Regions from separate parts of the Homo sapiens genome. Here region 2 is linked to region 1. The links are contacts of gene promoters, found by promoter capture Hi-C in blood cells and fetal thymus (Javierre and others, 2016). All regions are on one chromosome and are shown on one strand. Each heading gives the region's core, a stretch centred on a gene start or on the middle of the fragment in contact. The rest is flanking DNA. Distances are from core to core; before and after follow the strand shown. Region 1 holds the start of USP16 (ubiquitin specific peptidase 16). Region 2 overlaps LTN1 (listerin E3 ubiquitin protein ligase 1).

Region 1 (3,001 bases), core at 58-2,557:
TCCCCTTATCCCATATTCTAGTGAATTTCTTAAATCTTTAATCTGGGTTTATGTTATTTCTGTAAGCAGAATCTAAAGTTCTTAGAAAAATAAATGGTTTCAAGCACAGTTTTGGAACTGCCTATAATATCTAGCATAATGTTAGTACATAGCAGGTCCTGAAGAAATACTTCTTGCATTGAAATAGAAAAATAGAATAGTACCTGAGGCATAAAGGATGATTACAAGGTGCAAAGGTAGGTACATAAGAATGAAGCAAACAAGTTCTGGTGAAAAAGAAAAGGGTGAAAAATGAGAAGTCAGAAGTCTGCAGTAGTGAAGACAGCACTAGTAAATCTGGTTTGAGGATTGCAGCAGCTTAGACTCCATAGGAAAACTTGAAAGACGAATTGTTAATTACTGCAGGCAGAGGACAGAGGGGTCACTCCAGTGCTGCGGAAAGAGCCTCAGTAAAGTTCTGACAACTATAAAGGCAACTAATGAGTCATGAGGAGAGCATATTGTGACTTCCATCAGCTATAAAACATCAATAAACTTAATACACTTTTCAAGTAGTGTCATCGGATGAGCATTAACGTCTTAGTGAAATGACTCTTCGCAGGACTCCATACAAAATCTAAATCAAAGATAGTCTTGCCGGTTCTCATATTATTCCAAGTCTCTTCACTCTCTGCCCTCCCAGTCTTCCCCTGCCTACTCGGTTCCATTAAAAATGTAAGCGTGTGGAAAACTTTGTCAGCAGGTGTTAACGTGGCTTTCAAGTTTTGCGTATATCAATCCCCTCCTAGATATAGTCAATTGGATAAGTGACAGATCCTGCTTTTCCTACCAGCCGTATGAACACGGCTGCAAATCCAGCTCCAACCCATAGGGAAGTCCCTGCCACGCGCCACCCACCCATTTGCTCGGCGCCTGCCACACCTTCCCTCTCCTCCCCTTCTAACTGCTCCGATCCCACGGGGGAACCTCTGGGTCCACGGGGTCGAGAAGGCCGCCAGCAGCGGCATCTCATTGGCCAGCTTCTGGAACTGACAGAACATGCAGCCAATGAGATCGCAGTACCGGAAAGTAGCCGGGTTACGTGCTTAAGGAGAGCGGCCTTCAAGAAGAGAACGAAGTTGGGGCGGAAAACAGGAGCTCTCCCAGCGCAGAAAGCCAGGCGAGCGACGACTGCCAGGCAGTGGGACCAGAACTCACCCACGGCGACAGAGCCCATAACTGCATCCCCTCATGGGCCTTTGGGCTGGGCAGCCAGCTCCGTCTTCCTCCTGGTGACGAATTGAGAGCGACGGAGTCGAAGCCAGAGTGACCCCTGGAAAGCAATAACTTCCGGAACGCGGCATTATGGGAAGTGGCTAGGCCACCACCACCCCACCCCCACCTCCCGGGACCATCGGCTCTGACGCTAGTAAATCTGCGCCTGCGTGCGGCTTGCGCCGGATGTTCGGGTTTAGGGGTTTGGTTGTCAATGGGTTTTCTCGTCTCTGACATAACCACGAAGTTATATAAATGCTCCTGAAGTGTGGGCATCCGGTGGTGGTCTGAGCCTTGGAGTTTCCTAGATGGTTACCTTTCTGGAACACATTATATTTGGAGCTAAAAGGGGGAACGCTTAAATTTGTTTCCGTAATTCTGTCCTGTCGACTTCTAAAACTGAGTACCTAAGTTGTCTTGAATTTACCTTCCTGCACCATGTCAGAATAAAAAACGCAGCGAGTGATTTTTTGTTTGTTTGAGACGGAATATCCCTCTGTCGCCCAGGCTGGAGTGCATTCTTCTGCCTCAGCCTCCCGAGTAGCTGGGACTACAGGCGCACGGCACCACGCCCAGCTAAAATTTTTGTATTTTTAGTAGAGACGGGGTTTCACCAATTGGCCAGGCTGGTCTCCAACTCCTGACCTTGTGATGCGCCCGCCTCGGCCTCCCAACGTGCTGGGATTACAGGCGTGAGCCACCGCGCCCGGCCGCGAGAGTGAATTTTTAAAGCAAAACCGAAAGACGGTGTCAGATAAATTGCGGGGGAGGAGGGGATTTTCAAATATTTACTGTCCATTCTTTGAAAATTTGTAAGTGCGAGCCCTGGCGCGGTGGCTCACCCCTGTAATCCCAACACTGGGAGGCCGAGGCGGGTGGATCACGTGAGGTCAGGAGTTCGAGACCAGCCTGGCCAACGTGGTGAAATCCCGTCTCTACTAAAAATACAAAAAATTAGTCGGTCGTGGTGGCGGGCGCCTGTAATCCCAGCTATTCGGGAGGCTAAGGGGGAGAATCGCTTGAAGTCTGGAGGCAGAGGTTGCAATGAGCCAAGATCACTCCATTGCACTCCAGCCTGGGCAACAAGAGCAAAACTCCCTCTCAAAAAGAAAAAAAGAAAATATGTAAGTGCACACTTTGTGCCAAGCCTTTCCTCAAATGAATTAAACATAGGCCTCTCTGCCCTGGAGTCTTAGTTTAGTAGAGAAGATAGTAATCGCTACCGTGGGGGTCGGGGGAGTTGCAGATAGCTATAGAAAAATAGATATGTAAACAGGTAATTCACCATAAAAGAACAATTGGTCATAAAATAAATGTCCATCCTTACTAATCAGATAAAAGGAGTTTAAGATGGTGGCATACTAACCACCAGAGTAACATTTGGTTAAATTTGGGGGAAAACTAGCTCTCTTGCTTTTTACTGCTGAGATAATTTTTGTTTTATTTACTTATTTATTTATTTATTGAGACCGGGTTGCACTCTGTTACCCAGGCTGGAGTGCAGTGGCACGACCTCAGCTCACTGCAACCTCCACCTCCCGATTCTCCCACCTCACCCTCCCCAGTGGCTGGGATTATAGGCACGTGCCACCCCACCACACAGCTAACTTTTGTATTTTTTTGGTAGAGGCAGGGTTTCAGCATATTGGCCAGGCTGGTCTTGAACTCCTGGCCTCAAGTGATCCACCTGCCTCGGCCTCCCAAAATGCTGGATTACAGGCATAAGCCACCGGACCCGGCTTAGTTT
Region 2 (3,096 bases), core at 355-2,854, 54 kb after region 1:
AGCTTTAAGTTTTAATTATTTTTAGTTGAGTAATTGTGCTTGATCTTTTTCCGATCTGCTCTGCTTTTTCCAGGATCCTTTTTCTTACAAGTTTTTTAAAACTTTTGTTCCTTTAAATATAATAAGCATTGTATTATAGAATTTGTGACTGATCATTCTAAGATTTAAAGTCTCAGATCTTTTATTTCTCCTGATTGTTGCTCATGGTGTCTTATTTTCTGTTTGTTTGGCTATAATGGAGGCCCCAAATGAAGGCTTCTGCTACTAAAGAGGATTTGTGTTTGCTTCAGTCAAAGAAAGAGAAAGTTGAATTAATTCTTTCAGCCTTCACTTTTGCCTTGGTAATTCCTTATGCCTTTTCAGCCATTTCATACTCTAAGATTTTAAAAAGTATTTTTTCTAGCTATTTTAGTTTTCTTAGTGGGAGGGTTAGTGTGAATAATCTACTATTACCATAAATTAAAAATCTTATCAAGTTTTACTAGGTTTTAATTTAATTCAGCTTTGCATTCTTTTAGATTCGCTCAGCTTATTTTGAGTTAGTCTCTGCATTGTGCCAGCGCATTCCACAGTTGATGAAAGAGGAAGCATCCAAAGTGAGCCCATCAGTTCTACTTAGCATTGATGACAGTGACCCAATTGTCTGCCCAGCTCTCTGGGAAGCTGTACTCTATACACTTACAACTATTGAGGTATGTAAGAGAGGCACATTTAGTACACTGAGGAATGAACCTATGAGATAAGAATATCCAAAACTTACTGGGAAAATGCTTTCTTGGAAATAAAATAATCTAAACTTGGCATAAATCTTAAAGTGACTAAAATGGCATAGAGTTTTTATTTTATTTTGTTTTGCCAGTATTAATTATTCTTTAAACCTTATGTGTCCTAGTGCAGTCACCATAACTGAATTTTATATTTAAGATGAAATATAATTAAGATTGAAATATAATTGTCCCTTTTAGAAAGCAGCTTTTATAGAAATAGAAGTTAAATAATTATTTCTAATCAATACTTTATTGTAAGCATGTCGAATATATGATCATTATATGTAATACATTTATAATTTCAGTTTTAGTTTTTAATGGTGGTGAAAGATTTTAGCTTTTTTTAGGTAAAATACTTGGTTTTTCTTTTTGAGAGCCTATATGTTTTCTCTTTTAATTGAGAAAAGTATGTTTATGATCTCTAATTACTACTATAATCTTTTGTTTGGTTAGGACTGTTGGCTTCATGTAAATGCAAAAAAGAGTGTGTTTCCCAAGCTATCAACTGTGATTCGTGAAGGTGGTCGGGGTCTAGCTACTGTCATATATCCTTACCTTCTGCCATTCATCAGCAAGCTCCCTCAGTCCATCACAAATCCAAAGTTGGATTTCTTCAAAAATTTCCTCACGTCTCTAGTTGCTGGGTAAGTAATTTAAATTTTTGATTTTTAAAACAAAACAGATTTTCTTGTTTTTATACTCATTTTCTTTCTTACTTAAATTTCTCCAAGTTGTTTTACTATTCATTAAATACTTTTAAAGTTTTCAGAGAATTACAATTGATATTTTTTTCTTGAGTACGTTCAAGACTTCAGTGGTAGCACACAGCAGGAAGTTAGATAAATAAGGTAAAGCTCCTTGTTGGAAATAGGTCAACTAGGCTATTTTTCAAATTAGCCATTTTTTTAACAGCAGAATGTGCTAACCAATTGCACCACAGACACATGTAGCCATTTTTTATTTTTTATGTTGATAAATACAAATGCCTAAATGCAGAAAATTAGCCAGTGAAATTTTTAAAACATCAACAACTTTAACTACTATAGATGTTTAAATTCACACTTAAAAAAACTGTTTCAGTACATTTGTTGAACTTAGAAGATACATCATTTTATTAATGATTACAGATTTTTTTTACTACACCATTATCTTTATTTGGTTAATAAGTTATCTCGAATTTGCAGGTGGATTGGTCCATGAATAGAAAATTAATATCTCGGCTAGGCGTGGTGCCTCACAGCTGTAATCCTAGCACAGGCCAAAGTGGGAGGATTGCTTGAGGCCAGGAGTTCAAGACCAGCCTGGTCAAGATAGTAAGACCCTATTTCTAAAAAAAAAGAAGAAAAAGAAAAAGGAAATATTCTCTTATTTTTATTTTTTACTGATACATTTTTTGAAAAACTTTTTCAAAGTTTTTAAGTTCATATTCTCATTGGGCTATATGTATTTTCATTGGTATTTAATTTGTAGTTTAAGAAACTGCTTTAAAAATGTTTCTTCTGTCATGATGCCTTTTTGAGGTCTTTATTTTGATAATTCTGAGTTCTTGTTTCTTCTTCATGAAAGAGTAATCCAGTTATTAATTATTTCTTAGGCTGTCAACAGAGAGAACTAAAACCAGCTCTTTAGAGTCCTCGGCAGTAATATCTGCTTTTTTTGAATGCTTACGTTTTATAATGCAGCAAAACTTAGGTGAGGAAGAGATTGAACAGATGCTCGTCAATGATCAGGTATCTATAATGTAAAAGTCGTCAGTCTCTTTGCATACTGATTATGTAGGATCAAGCTCATTGTGTCTTGTTGCCATTTACAGTAATAAGCCTTCCTTGTAAAAATTTTATTTTTATAATTTACCAATTGAGTGATGTGTATTTCTGACCAGATAAGTAAAAATTCCATACTCTCAGTTGCTAGCATGGTATGATACCTAAGAAACTAATCAGTGTCTGGATGCAAAAATCCCTTTTTTTTTTGAGACAAAGTTTCGCTCTTTGTTGCCCAGGCTGGAGTACAATGACGCAATCTCAGCTCACTGCAACCTCTGCCTCCCGGGTTCAAGCTATTCTCCTGCCTCAGCCTCCCAAGTAGCTGGGATTACAGGCACCCGCCACCACACCCAGCTAATTTTTGTATTTTTAGTAGAGACGGCGTTTCACCATGTTGGCCAGGCTGGTCGAGAACTGCTGACCTCAGGTGATCTACCCGCCTCGGCTTCACAAAGTGCTGGGATTACAGGTGTGAGCCACCGCGCCCGGCCTGTAAAACCCTGTTTTAGAAAGATGTAGTGCAGGCTGGGCGTCGTGGCTCACGCCTGTAATCCCAGCACTTT

Evidence for each region. Contacts are between HindIII fragments. The CHiCAGO score rates a contact against its expected background, and 5 or more counts as called.
Region 2: a contact is called between a fragment that was not itself captured here and the fragment with the promoter of USP16 in region 1, in 4 of 17 cell types (neutrophils, total CD8 T cells, activated CD4 T cells and 1 more). The highest score is 5.7, in neutrophils.

Annotation. Positions count from the first base shown.
Region 1 is chr21:29,022,974-29,025,974 of GRCh38, reverse strand. USP16 (ubiquitin specific peptidase 16) reads right to left here and starts at 1,307. Exons shown (of 18, transcript NM_006447.3): 1 at 1,198-1,307. RefSeq lists an enhancer at 1,042-1,431. The HindIII fragment of the contact is 4,939 bases long and covers 1-3,001 here.
Region 2 is chr21:28,968,867-28,971,962 of GRCh38, reverse strand. LTN1 (listerin E3 ubiquitin protein ligase 1) reads left to right here. Exons shown (of 30, transcript NM_015565.3): 7 at 519-692; 8 at 1,221-1,411; 9 at 2,362-2,497. Among named protein-coding and RNA genes, the nearest start is that of LTN1, 22 kb to the left of the region's middle. RefSeq lists a silencer at 2,997-3,096. The HindIII fragment of the contact is 7,647 bases long and covers 1-3,096 here.